Linked DNA regions of Homo sapiens: region 2 is linked to region 1. Evidence: promoter capture Hi-C in 16 types of primary human blood cells and fetal thymus (Javierre and others, 2016). All regions are on one chromosome and are shown on one strand. Each heading gives the region's core, a stretch centred on a gene start or on the middle of the fragment in contact. The rest is flanking DNA. Distances are from core to core; before and after follow the strand shown.

Region 1 (6,180 bases), core at 1-2,500:
GCAACGGACACTGGCTGGAACCCCGGAATGAGCCTTCGACCCTGAAATCCTTGGGGTGCCTCGAGGACGACTGGCCGAAAAGCCGCATTCCCTGCCTCACAGGCCGGAAGTCCCAGCCCAGTCCCCGCGCGCGTCCCTCTTCCTCCTCATACTTTCCCTTGACTGAGAGCTCCTCTAACCCCTGTTCTGATGGGGGAGGGCGGTCTTCCCACTTCCTCTCCAGAACTCCAGAAAGAGCAGTGTGCTTATGCTTCAGTCCAGGCTGGAGAGGTTGGGGCCGGGGTAGGGAGGCAGGAGCCATGTCAGTTCTGAAGGAGGGTGAGGCGGTGGGGGATTGCAGGGGGCGGCTGAGAGAAAACCTCCTTGGGGGCCAGGGATTCCCTTTCCCACTCTGAGGCTCTGGCCAGAGGGAGAGAGGACTCTGGACCTAGGAAAAGAGGCTTTTGGCTCCAGGTGGTCAGGACAGTGGGGGTTGGGGGTGGGGTGGGTGGGTGCTGGCGGTGGGGACCAAGATCCGGAAAGATGAATAAAGACAAACATGACAAACTAAGAAAACACAGTGTGCTTCTCTAGTGTGGCTGGGGAGCCTGCCTGGTGGGGTATGTGTCAGTGTGCTGGCCCAAATCCTCTGTGTCCATACCGCATGGCATCCGTCACATTCTTACAAGCAATGCCTCCAAAAGCAAAGGAGGATGGGGCAATCTCCTTGATCCCCCCCAGTGATTCTTACAAGAGGAGAGGAAAACAGAGGCTTCGCCAGATGGTGTGTCCATCATCACACAGCCGGCCCACAGCAACAGCACAGATGGGACCCCTGTCTGCCAGGCTCTGGGGTCCTGGGTTCCTTCTACTCCCCATACCGCATTTGAGCCAGGCAGTGGTGAAAAGCCCACTTTCTGGTGCCTTTTGTCCGTGCTTTTAGAGCTCCTGTCCCACAAAGGGTTACCGAGGCCCAAAGAGTGTCTGAAGGGACCGAGTGTGCCTAGTAAGGGGAGACTTAGTGGGCCCAGGACTCCAGGGCTGTGTCCTCCTTAGGGCTCCGGGGGTGAGTAAGAGCTCCCTTACTCAGCCGTGATGCATTCGCTGTCTTCTTCAGGGGCCCCTCCCAGCCAGGTGTCAGCAGAGGGAGAGGAGAGCCAAAGAAGGAGGAGGTGCGGCCACCACCCTAGTCCAAGGCTGCTGGCTCCCAAGCCTGGTGTTGGTGGGAGGGACAGAGAGGGGCGGGAACAGCCAGCAGCCTGCCGGGAGCCAAAACGAAAGCACTCCGTGCTGGAAGTAGGAGGAGAGTCAGGACTCCCAGGACAGAGAGTGCACAAACTACCCAGCACAGCCCCCTCCGCCCCCTCTGGAGGCTGAAGAGGGATTCCAGCCCCTGCCACCCACAGACACGGGCTGACTGGGGTGTCTGCCCCCCTTGGGGGGGGGCAGCACAGGGCCTCAGGCCTGGGTGCCACCTGGCACCTAGAAGATGCCTGTGCCCTGGTTCTTGCTGTCCTTGGCACTGGGCCGAAGCCCAGTGGTCCTTTCTCTGGAGAGGCTTGTGGGGCCTCAGGACGCTACCCACTGCTCTCCGGTGAGTCTGGAACCCTGGGGAGACGAGGAAAGGCTCAGGGTTCAGTTTTTGGCTCAGCAAAGCCTTAGCCTGGCTCCTGTCACTGCTGCCACTGCCAGAACTGCCCTGTCTGGTCTGTCTGGTGCTGATGGTAGAAGAGAAGAACGGGGAAGGGGCAAGAGCTGGGTCTGTCTTTCTCTGGGAGGGTCTGGGAATACGGAGCCCCAGAAAAAGGTAGGTGGAGGTCTTAGGCAGAGAACAGTGCCTAGATGGTGGGGGCACAAATTCTGACTCTCCTTTCTTTCCTTCCCAGGGCCTCTCCTGCCGCCTCTGGGGTAAGTATCCCTACTTTTAAAAAGAATTTCCCAGGTTGGCCGAAGGGAGCAGAGCTGTCCCAGGCCCATGCCCTCCATGCCCACCTCAGCCTAGGACAGCCAAGTTCTTTGGCTCTCTGGGTATGTCAGGTGCCACCAAATTCTGGGCTTGGAACAGCTTCAGCTCCCACCCGCTCCTCCACACACAGACAGTGACATACTCTGCCTGCCTGGGGACATCGTGCCTGCTCCGGGCCCCGTGCTGGCGCCTACGCACCTGCAGACAGAGCTGGTGCTGAGGTGCCAGAAGGAGACCGACTGTGACCTCTGTCTGCGTGTGGCTGTCCACTTGGCCGTGCATGGTGAGCAAGTCATCCTGTGACAGTGCATGTGTACACGTGAGTGTGTCTGGGGTGGGCATGAGGGCCAGGGGATCTCTCAAGCAGTGCTAGGCATCCTCAGTGTTCTCCTGGAGGACACCAGCAGAAGGACCCCCAGGCCAGTGTGGTCTCCCCAGCCCCTGCTTCCCAGCACTGGGCTTTCCAGAAGGAAGCCAACGCCAAAGCCAGCCAGCCCAGAGCAGGGGGCCTCACCCAGGGCCTTGCTCTTGGGTCCTTCTAGGGCACTGGGAAGAGCCTGAAGATGAGGAAAAGTTTGGAGGAGCAGCTGACTCAGGGGTGGAGGAGCCTAGGAATGGTGAGGAGAACCTGGCTGGCCCAACTGCCCCATGCCAAGGCCTGGCCTGCCGCTCCTGGGCCTGACTGACCCCTGCCCTGTTGCCCACAGCCTCTCTCCAGGCCCAAGTCGTGCTCTCCTTCCAGGCCTACCCTACTGCCCGCTGCGTCCTGCTGGAGGTGCAAGTGCCTGCTGCCCTTGTGCAGTTTGGTCAGTCTGTGGTATGCAAAATAATAATAATCACCTTCTAAACCTAAAATCTATAAAACTTTTTCACATGCATTATCTCTTTGAGGATTACAAAAGAATTAAATTTATTGAAACCCTTCAGTACCAGGCATTACAGCCAGTGTTTTACAGGTATCAACTTATTTAATTCTCACAACAGCCATGTGAGGTGGGACTATTCTTTTGATTCTGATCAGCGCTGTGGGCAAGTCCCTTCAGCCTGTTATGCCTCAGCTTTTATGTCTGTAAAATGGGGATGAGAATAGTTCTACTTCATATGCTTGACTGCGAGAAATCACCAAGCGTTTTTCAGGGTGCTTCTACTATTTTCCCCTCCTACCAGCAGTGTATGGGAGTCCTAGTTGCTTCCCATCTTTGCCAACACTTGATGGTGTAATTTTATTTTATTTTTAAATTAAATATATTTGAATTTTAAATATATGGGACCCTCCATGAATTTGCATGTCATCCTCAGGCACGGGCCTTGCTAATCTTTTCTGTATTGTTCCAGTTGTAGTATATGTGGTGCCAAAACAAGCATAAGTGTTGTAATTGTCATAATTTTTCTGCATATGTAGTGGTTTGCCATTGTGGTTTTAATTTGTATCTTCCAATGACTGATGAAGTTGAGCACTTTTTTCACATGCTTATTGGCTATTTGTGTAACTTCCTTGTGAAATATCTCTTAAAGTTTTTTTGTTTTTGTTTTTGTTTTTGTTTTTGCCACATAAAAAAACAATAGTTCTGGCCGGGCACAGTGGTTCACACCTGTAATCCCAGCACTTTGGGAGGCTGAGGCGGGCAGATCACGAAGTCAGGAGATTGAGACCATCCTGGCTAACACTGTGAAACCCTGCCTCCACTAAAAAAATACAAAAAATTAGCCAGGCATGGTGGTGGGCGCCTGTAGACCCAGCTACTCGGGAGGCAGAGGCAGGAGAATGGCGTGAACCCGGGAGGTGGAGCTTGCAGTGAGCCGAGATCGCGCCACTGCACTCCAGCCTGGGCGACAGAGCGAGATTCCGTCTCAAAAAAAAAGAATAGTCCCACCTCACATGACTGTTGTGAGAATTAAATTAAGTTGGTACCTGTAAAACACTGGATGTAATGCCTGGCACTGAATAATTTCAATAAATTTAATTCTTTTGTAATCCTCAAAACTACCTGATGAGGCATTATTAGTATCCTCATTTTCCAGATAGATAAAATGAGGCTTGGAGAGGGGAGGTCTGTGGGCTGGATGCACTTCTCTGTACTCTTGGACCAAAGAAAGAGTCCTACCATACATACCATGGTATACTTACCATGGTGTAAGTACCATGGTGCAGGGTGTTGGGGCTTCTCCCTGCCTTAGGAGGCCACATGTACCTGGAAGGTCTATTTCCACTGGGGTCAAATCACTCAAACCCTTTGACTTTCCCTCCAACCTCCAGCCCCCAGCCAATATCCTATCTGGAGAATTGTAGACTGGGAGAACATCTGCTTGGTCCATGTCACAAGCAGTTGTAAGGAACACTGAGGCACTGGGTTGAGTGTGAGAACCACTTCTGTGGGGAGGGGTGTGCCATATTGTGTTGGGGTGTCTCATCTCCTTAGCTTTGGCCAGGTGATCTAGCACAGCAGGGTGGGTGCAGGGATTTAAATGTCTAGGGCCTTTTCCCGCCCTGGTGACACTCTTACTGAGGACATTTGCTTTAGAATTGAGGCCCCTTGAAAGAAAGGTGAATAGTAGATTTCAGGCTATACAGTATAAATACAGTCATTAGTTGGGGGAGGAGGGCAGTGAGCAGAGTGGTCCCTGCAGATGATCCCACAGCCCTTGGCCTGGATTCTGAGCCCTGCACCGCCAGCCTTCCTCACCCCTCTCCTCACAGGGCTCTGTGGTATATGACTGCTTCGAGGCTGCCCTAGGGAGTGAGGTACGAATCTGGTCCTATACTCAGCCCAGGTACGAGAAGGAACTCAACCACACACAGCAGCTGCCTGGTAAGTGGACCCCCAAGTCCTGGCCCCCTAGCCTCTGTCCCCTCTGGCCATTCCCCCTCCTGATTTCACCCTCTTCTAGCTCCATCCACTCTCCGGCAGGGGTCTGAGCTGCTATCCTCCCCAGAGTCAGTCCCTCGGACCTTCTCTCTCTGGGTGATATGGCTTTCCAGCCCCTGGGGAAGGTTCTTTGAGCATTGGATAGATGTGGGTGGTATGTAGGGGATGGGGAGCCATTCCTAATGCCCCCCTGGGAGCCAAATTGCCCCCACTTCTTTCCTTGGCCCCCAGCCCCACTGGAGGCTCTTCTGTGATCTCTCCTCAGACTGCAGGGGGCTCGAAGTCTGGAACAGCATCCCGAGCTGCTGGGGTAGGGGCTAGGGCCAGTGGGCCGGGGGTAGGGAGGGGCAGGGTCTGGAGTATAAGAAACCCTTGGAGTCCACTTCAGATATGGGCTACCACATCTCAGAAGCTCACAGAACATATTCATTCATTCATTCATTCATTCATTTGTTCATAACACATTAATTGCAGTATCTGTGCTAAGCACTGGAAATAGAAAGATGAATCTTGGGTCAGGCTCAGTGGCTCATGCCTGTAATCCCAGAACTTTGGGAGGCCGAGGTAGAAGGATCACTTGAGCTCAAAAGTTCAAGACGAGCCTGGGCAACATGGCAAATCCCCGTCTCTACCAAAAATACAAAAATTAACAGGACATGGTGGTGTGCATTTGTGGTCCCAGCTACTCAGGAGGCTGAGGCAGGAGAATCACTTGAGCCTGGGAGGCAGGGGCTACAGTAAGCTGAGACTGCACCATTGCACACCAGCCTGGGTGACAGAGCAAGACTCCGTCTCAAAAAACAAAACAAAACAAAACAAAAACAAAAAACTTGAAATAAAAGCTAAGAAAGTCAAGGGTCTAACTTTTTTCCCACGTACTATTTGGATTTTGTTTTCGTTTTGTATTTTCTTTTTTATTGTGTATAACATACATACATAAAAGTATGTAAAGGGTACTGATTTTCTTTTTTTTTTTTTTTTTTGAGACAGAGTCTCGCTCTGTCGCTCAGGCTGGAGTGCAGTGGTGCAATCTCGGCTCACTGCAAGCTCCGCCTCCCAGGTTCACGCCATTCTCCTGCCTCAGCCTCCCGAGTAGCTGGGACTACAGGCACCCGCCACCACGCCTGGCTAATTTTTTTTTTTTTTTAGTAGAGACAGGGTTTCACCGTGTTAGCCAGGATGGTCTTGATCTCCTGACCTTGTGATCCGCCTGCCTCAGCCTCCCAAAGTGCTGGGATTACAGGCGTGAGCCACCACGCCCAGCCAAAGGGTACTGATTTCCATGTCCAGTTCTTTTTTTTTTTTTTTTTTTTGGCGGAATCTTGCTCTGTCGCCTAGGCTGGACTGCAGTGGTGTGATCTCAGCTCA
Region 2 (6,599 bases), core at 1,744-4,243, 120 kb after region 1:
TAGTAATGGGGTTCTAGAATTAGAATATAGAGAAATTGGTAGAAAATTTGAAACTGAAGAGGAATAATATAGGAAATTACTGAAAGTAAATGTTATACTTTGGAAATACTGTTCTCCAAAAGAGAAGAGACTTCTGAATTAAGTTTATTAGAAGGGATTTGGGTTCTCTTGGTCAGTAATGAACAAACTGAAACTTTCATTCTGGTTGTGTTTTACATTTCATTCAGGAAGGTAGTGGTCTTTGTCTCATTCTGATTAAGGCTTTATTAGAAAGAGGGAAAGGAGGCCAGGCACGGTGGCTCACGCCTGTAATCCCAGCACTTTGGGTGGCCAAGGCGGGCAGATCACGAGGTCAGGAGATTGAGACCATCTTGGCTAACATGGTGAAACCCCGTCTCTACTAAAAATACAAAAAATTAGCCGGGCGTGGTGGTGTGCACCTGTAGTCCCAGCTACTGGGAGGCTGAGGCAGGAGAATGGCATGAACCCGGGAGGCGGAGCTTGCAGTGAGCCAAGATCGCGCCACTGCACTCCAGCCTGGGCGACAGAGCAAGACTCCATTTCAAAAAAAAAAAAAAAAGAAAGAGGGAGAGGAATTGAAGAAGGAAAAAACAAAATGGCATCATTAAGGGAGAAGAGTAAATTTTAAACTTGGCTTCAAGTACCTGTTTGTTTCTTGTTTCTTATTTCTTTTTATGGGTTGAAAGTCTTGGGATTAAACCTATCTGAGCATTGTAGTCAAAGATATGATACAAAGAACCTTCCCCATTCTGTCTACCCTTTATTCAGATCATTGAGTCTCAAATTTGGTGTGTATCAGGATTATTATCTGAAGAACATAAAAAATTCGGATTCCTAGGTCCCATTCCCAAGATTTTGACTCAGTAACTCTGGTATATGGCATGGAATATGCCTTTTTTTTCCTTTGAGACAGAGTGTCACTCTGTTGCTCAGGCAGGAGTGAAGTGGCGCGATCTGGGCTCACTGCAACCTCTGCCTCCCGGGTTCAAGTGATTCTCCTCCTCAGCCTCCCGAGTAGTTGGTATTACAGGCGCACGCCACCACACCCAGTTAATTTTGTATTTTTAGTAGAGATGGGGTTTCACCACGTTAGCCAGGCTGGTCTTGAACTCCTGACCTCAGGTAATCAGCCTGCCTCGGCCTCCCAAAGTGCTGGGATTACAGGCGTGAGCCACTGTGCTGGGTCGGAAATATGCATTTTAATAAGCTTCCCAGGGATTCCAGTACAGTGGTTTGCAGGCAACAGCTTGAGAGACACTGGCTAGTTTAGTATTTGGGTGGAAAACATTTCTGTGGGTTATTCTTGTTAGGCACTTATTTGTTTGAATTTATTTTTTTAGAGATGGGGATTTCACTCTGTCACCCAGGCTGGAGTGCAGTGGTAATATCATAGCTCACTATAGCCTCAACCTCCTGGGCTCAAGTTATTCTTCCGCCTTAGCCTCCGAAGTAGCTGGGACTACAGGTGTGCGTCTCCTCACCTAACTAGTTTGTGTGTGGAGGGGGGGAATGGGGGTGAAGGGGGGGAGATGGGGGGGTGGTCTCACTTTGTTGCCCAGGCTGGTCTTGAACTCCTGGCTTCAAGTGATCCTCCTGCCTTGGCCTCCTAATTTGCTGGGATTACCACATGAGCCACCTTGCCTGGCCAGAAATGGCACATTTTGAATTCTTCAAATGAAAATAGGTGAAAATAATTCTATTTGTTTGTTTTGGAAGCCACTATTGCTGAAGACAGTTTATTTCACTACAGCATCAATCCTAGTATAATTTTTAAGGACACATCAGTTTTCCTCTCATGATTATTATTCCTGGGTTTAAGTTTTAATTTTTCCTTTACTATTTGCCATATTCTTGAAAATTTTTCTATTTTCAGAAACCAGGAAGCAACCACTTTCCAAAAAGACAAAGAAATCTCATATTGCTAATGAAGTTGAAGAAAATGACAGCATCTTTGTAAAGCTTCTTAAGATATCAGGAATTATTCTTAAAACGGGAGAGAGTCAGAATCAACTAGGTAATATTTTAATCTAATTTTATTCTCTGGGTTTAATGAAATAGTTCAGGACTGAATCATGGGTTTTCTAAATAGAGAGGCAATGAAGATTAGAAATCAGAGGGCCATCCATCTTGAGACAAAGTTGAAATTGCTTTTTAGAAAATGGTACAGTCAGGCCGGGCGCGGTGGCTCACGTTTATCATCCCAGCACTTTGGGAGGCTCGAGGCAGGCGGATTGCCTGAGCTCAGGAATTTGCGACCGGCCTGGGCAACACGTCTCTACTAAAATATAAAAAATTAGCCGGGCATGGTGGCATGTGCCTGTAGTCCCAGCTGCTTGGGCGCCTGAGTCAGGAGAATTGCTTGAACCCGGGAGGTGAAAGTTGCAGTGAGTCAAGATCGCACCACTGCACTCCAGCCTGGGCGACAAGAGTGAGACTCCATTTCCAAAAAACAAAAATGGAAAAAGAAAATGGTACAGTCTTTGGTCCTCATTACTATGTCTTAAGTAAAGCATTTCTCATCCTTTTATTAGAAAAAATATTATATATTATTTATTTTGTGTTTTCTTATGAAAAAATAAATATCCAGAAAGCAGCTGTATCAGTGTCAGAATAATTTCAGAAGAAAATTTATAAAGCCATATAAGATTCTGTTTTGGGGGAGCAGATTATTCTATCTTGCTAAGGTTATGGCAGGTCTTTTTTAGAACACTTAGTGGCTATCTGCTATCAAAGCTAAGTCTTTTTTTTTTTTTTTTTTTTGAGACGGAGTCTTGCTCTGTCGCCCAGGCTGGAGTGCAGTGGCGCGATCTCTGCTCACTGCAAGCTCCACCTCCCAGGTTCACACCATTCTGCCTCAGCTTCCCAAGTAGCTGGGACTACAGGCGCCCGCCACCATGCCTGACTAATTTTTTGTATTTTTAGTAGAGACGGAGTTTCACCGTGTTAGCCAGGATGGTCTTGATCTCCTGACCTTGTGATCCACCTGCCTCGGCCTCCCAAAGTGCTGGGATTACAGGCATGAGCCACCGCGCCCAGCCAAAGCTAAGTCTTTTATGTGGGTTTAGACACAACCCCATGACTCTGGGCTGGGCACAGTGGCTTATGCCTGTAATCCCAGCACTTGGGAGGCTGAGGAGGGTGGATCACGAGGTCAGGAAATCGAGACCATCCTGGCTAACACAGTGAAACCCTGTCTCTACTAAAAATACAAAAAACGAAACAAAACAAAAAAAAACGTGTCTGTAGTCCCAGCTACTTGGGGGGGCTGAGGCAGGAGAATCATTTGAACCCAGGAGGCGGAAGTTCCTGTGAGCTGAGATCACGCCACTGCACTCCAGCCTAGGCAACAGAACAAAACTCCATCTCAAAAAAAAAAAAAAAAAAAAAGATTTGTCTCTGAAATTAGGTTGAAAATATTTTTATTGGTTTCATCAGGCAAGAAACTTGGGTTTTTAGAGAAGGAAAACTATGGTAGGAAACTGGTGACCAGCTCTTCTTTTTTCTGCATAGCTGTGGATCAAATAGCTTTCCAAAAGAAGCTCTTTCAGACCCTGAGGAGACACCCTTCCTATCCCAAAGTATGTATTTTTCCCCTGGTATTTTTGCTTGTGCCAGCATAACTCTAGAATTTGGAATTTAAGGACACTGGTATAAAGTTGAGTGGGCTAGAATGATTTTTAACAGCAAATATTAAACTAAAAATTTTATTCTTTTTTATTTTTTAAATCTCCTTAAGATAATAGAAGAATTTGTTAGTGGCCTGGAGTCTTACATTGAGGATGAAGACAGTTTCAGGAACTGCCTTTTGTCTTGTGAGCGTCTGCAGGATGAGGAAGCCAGGTGTGGAGAGGAGGCATGGAATCTTGCTGAAATTCAGTCTGTTTTGCCAACTTCATGGGGCTGGGGAGGGAGAGCACAGTTGTTTCAAATTTCATTTTTGGTGTAAGCTCTGTTTTCCTCAGAGTTTAAACTAAGTTTAAAATTCCTAAGCTTGTGGTTATGAGCCTAACAATCAGTGTTTTACCTATGCTGACAGAATTTCAAATCTCTACCTCTCCCTTGCAAAGAGCCATCTGCTCATTTCTGTATTTCTTGTCTAACAGGGTAGTTCCTCTTTAAATATTATGTATTTAACCAATTTTATTGAGAAAAGATGATAAAAGCATTAAAACAAGGAAAGCAAAGTGGAAAACAGATTTCTTTTTTTTTTACAGTATGGGTGCATCTTATTCTAAGAGTCTCATCAAACTGCTTCTGGGGATTGACATACTGCAGGTAAGACTGTCACTTTTTCTGTGAACATTTGATGGAAGAGGTTTGTGGTGTATGCTCAAGTCTAAATAGCGGGAACACAGGATAGAGTAGGGTTAATTGGAGAATTTGGGTTTGTAGCAGCTTTAGCACAGCCCTGTTGCTGTGATGGGTTTGGTAGGGTAATGTCTGTGTTTTAAAACTGTGCTTATTAGCCTAATACATCTGGCGGCCCCATTTATTCTCTCTGCATCTGATTCCTGTTCTTAAAGCTGCATCCTGTGTATCTCTGAGTATCTGGTAATCTTTATCATATTCATATCTACATTATCTCCCATTTAGCTTTTTAGATGCTTATGTAACTTAATTTTGTCCTTTTCCTCCTCCTCGTCTCTTTTATTAAGTAGACAATACATTGATATGATTTAAATATCTCAAGTTATACAAATGTATATAGAGCAGAAAACTTCCCTCCACCCCATTCTCCATTTTTCCTCTTCTCCCCTACTGTTAATCTTTTCACACTCTTAAACTCTTCCTTTTCACTGGAAATCTTGAAGATAATTTAGTTATTTTAAGTCTAAGAGCTCCCTTGTTCCTCCTGAGAGCTCCCCTTGCAAGTTATTTGATAATCTTTTAAAGTTTGCATTTTGTGGATTAACAGTTATTGTATTTAATAATATTTTAATTATCTGATTATTTTAACGTTGCCTTGATAATCATTTTCAGTTTTTCAGAAGACAAATTAAGTCTTTGTATTCCAATAGCATATTCTAAAAATGAAGACATATTCGTGTGGATATCCTTGTAATAAGATATCAACTTTAGCAAAGTGTTTATTCCAGGAGCTCTAGTTGGAAAGAGAATTATACATTTCTTTTTTTTTTTTTTTTTTTGAGTCAGAGTCTCCTTTGTCACCCAGGCTGGAGTGGAGTGGTGCAATCTCGGCTCACTGCAATCTCTGCCTTCCCCAGGTCCAAGAGGTTCTCGTGCCTCAGCCTCCCAAGTAGCTGGGATTATACATTTCTATTGTGTATTTTGAGATCATCTCCTAACTCCCTATGTCTTCTTTTTTAGCCTGCCATTATCAAAACCTTATTTGAGAAGTTGCCAGAATATTTTTTTGAAAAGTAAGTGGCGTTATTATGGAATGTTCAAAGTACCCTGATGTACTTAAGTTCTCTCTGAAAAGGTTACTCTGAAAACTATTGGTTTCTCTGAAAGTCATATTTATCATTATATTTCTTAAGTGACTACTAAAATTTTACTGGAGTGTCTTTGAAGTTTCATCTATTAATATGACTTTGTAAAAATAGATAGGATTACTGTTAAAAGTAACTATTGGCCTGGTGCAGTGGCTCACACCTGTAATCCCAACAGTTTGGGAAGCTGAGGGAGGAGGATTGCTTGAGTTCAGGAATTCAAGACCAGCCTGGGCAATGTAGTGAGACCTTGTCTGTATTTCAAAACAGAATTTTTTTTTTTTTTTTAAGTATCTGTTGCTTATGCTCAGGGATAATCCCTAGTAGAAGGATACACAATATACTGGTAATGGTAGTTGTCTCCAAAGAGGGTAGCCAGTTGGTTGGAATCAGGTATTTTCTGAATACTTTTCTTTACCTTTTAAATTTTGTAGTGTATGTTCAGACAGGGTCTCACTCTGTTGCCCAGGCTGGAGTGCCGTAGTACGATCATGGCTCACTGAGGCCTCCACCTCCCAGGCTTAAGTGATCCTCACACCTCAGCATCATGAGTGCCTGGGACTACAGGTGTGCGCCACCCGGTCCAGCTAATTTTCGTGGTTTTTTTTTTTTTGGTAGAGGTGGGGTTTCGCCATGTTGCCCAGGCTAGTCTCAAAACTTCCAGGCTCAAGTGGTCCACCTGCCTTAGCCTCTCAAACTACTGGGATGTGGCCCTACCTGTTTTTTTTTAATTACTATGTTAAGAAATGAACAGCCTAATAGAAAAGTAGACAAAGGTCATGAACAGACAGTTTACAAAGAAGAAATACAAGAACATCAAATATTTAAAAAGTTCAATTTTGTTAGCAATCAAAGGCACAAATTTAAAACACTGTATCAAAATAGTAAATAATAACTATTACACAGTAAAATAAATGCATTTTTTCCTACTCTCAAAGGGTCTCCTTGTTGAGTGTAGTGAATAGGCATGCTTGTACGTTGCTAGTGAGCATATAAATTAGTTCAGGCATCGATTCGGAAGAGCAATAGATTGTATGTGTCAAAAACCTTAGATTTTGCATACCCTTTAATCCTAATGTCATGTCTCCTCATTTATCCTAAGATAATAACTGTGAATGAAAATGA

Evidence for each region. Contacts are between HindIII fragments. The CHiCAGO score rates a contact against its expected background, and 5 or more counts as called.
Region 2: a fragment that was not itself captured here is called in contact with the fragment with the promoter of IL17RC in region 1 in 2 of 17 cell types (naive CD4 T cells and naive B cells); the score reaches 5.5 in naive CD4 T cells.

What each region holds. Positions count from the first base shown.
Region 1 is chr3:9,915,848-9,922,027 of GRCh38, forward strand. IL17RC (interleukin 17 receptor C) reads left to right here and starts at 1,251. Exons shown (of 19, transcript NM_153460.4): 1 at 1,251-1,573; 2 at 1,866-1,887; 3 at 2,076-2,228; 4 at 2,488-2,562; 5 at 2,653-2,762; 6 at 4,644-4,755; 7 at 5,078-5,122. The coding sequence starts at 1,469. IL17RE (interleukin 17 receptor E) reads left to right here. Exons shown (of 16, transcript NM_153480.2): 16 at 1-550. It also overlaps the pseudogene RNU6-882P. RefSeq lists enhancers at 504-1,043, 973-1,162. The HindIII fragment of the contact is 19,830 bases long and covers 1-6,180 here.
Region 2 is chr3:10,030,938-10,037,536 of GRCh38, forward strand. It overlaps FANCD2 (FA complementation group D2), which reads left to right. Exons shown (of 44, transcript NM_001018115.3): 3 at 1,895-2,035; 4 at 3,532-3,599; 5 at 3,758-3,861; 6 at 4,236-4,296; 7 at 5,350-5,402. Among named protein-coding and RNA genes, the nearest start is that of FANCD2, 7.8 kb to the left of the region's middle. The HindIII fragment of the contact is 2,031 bases long and covers 1,979-4,009 here.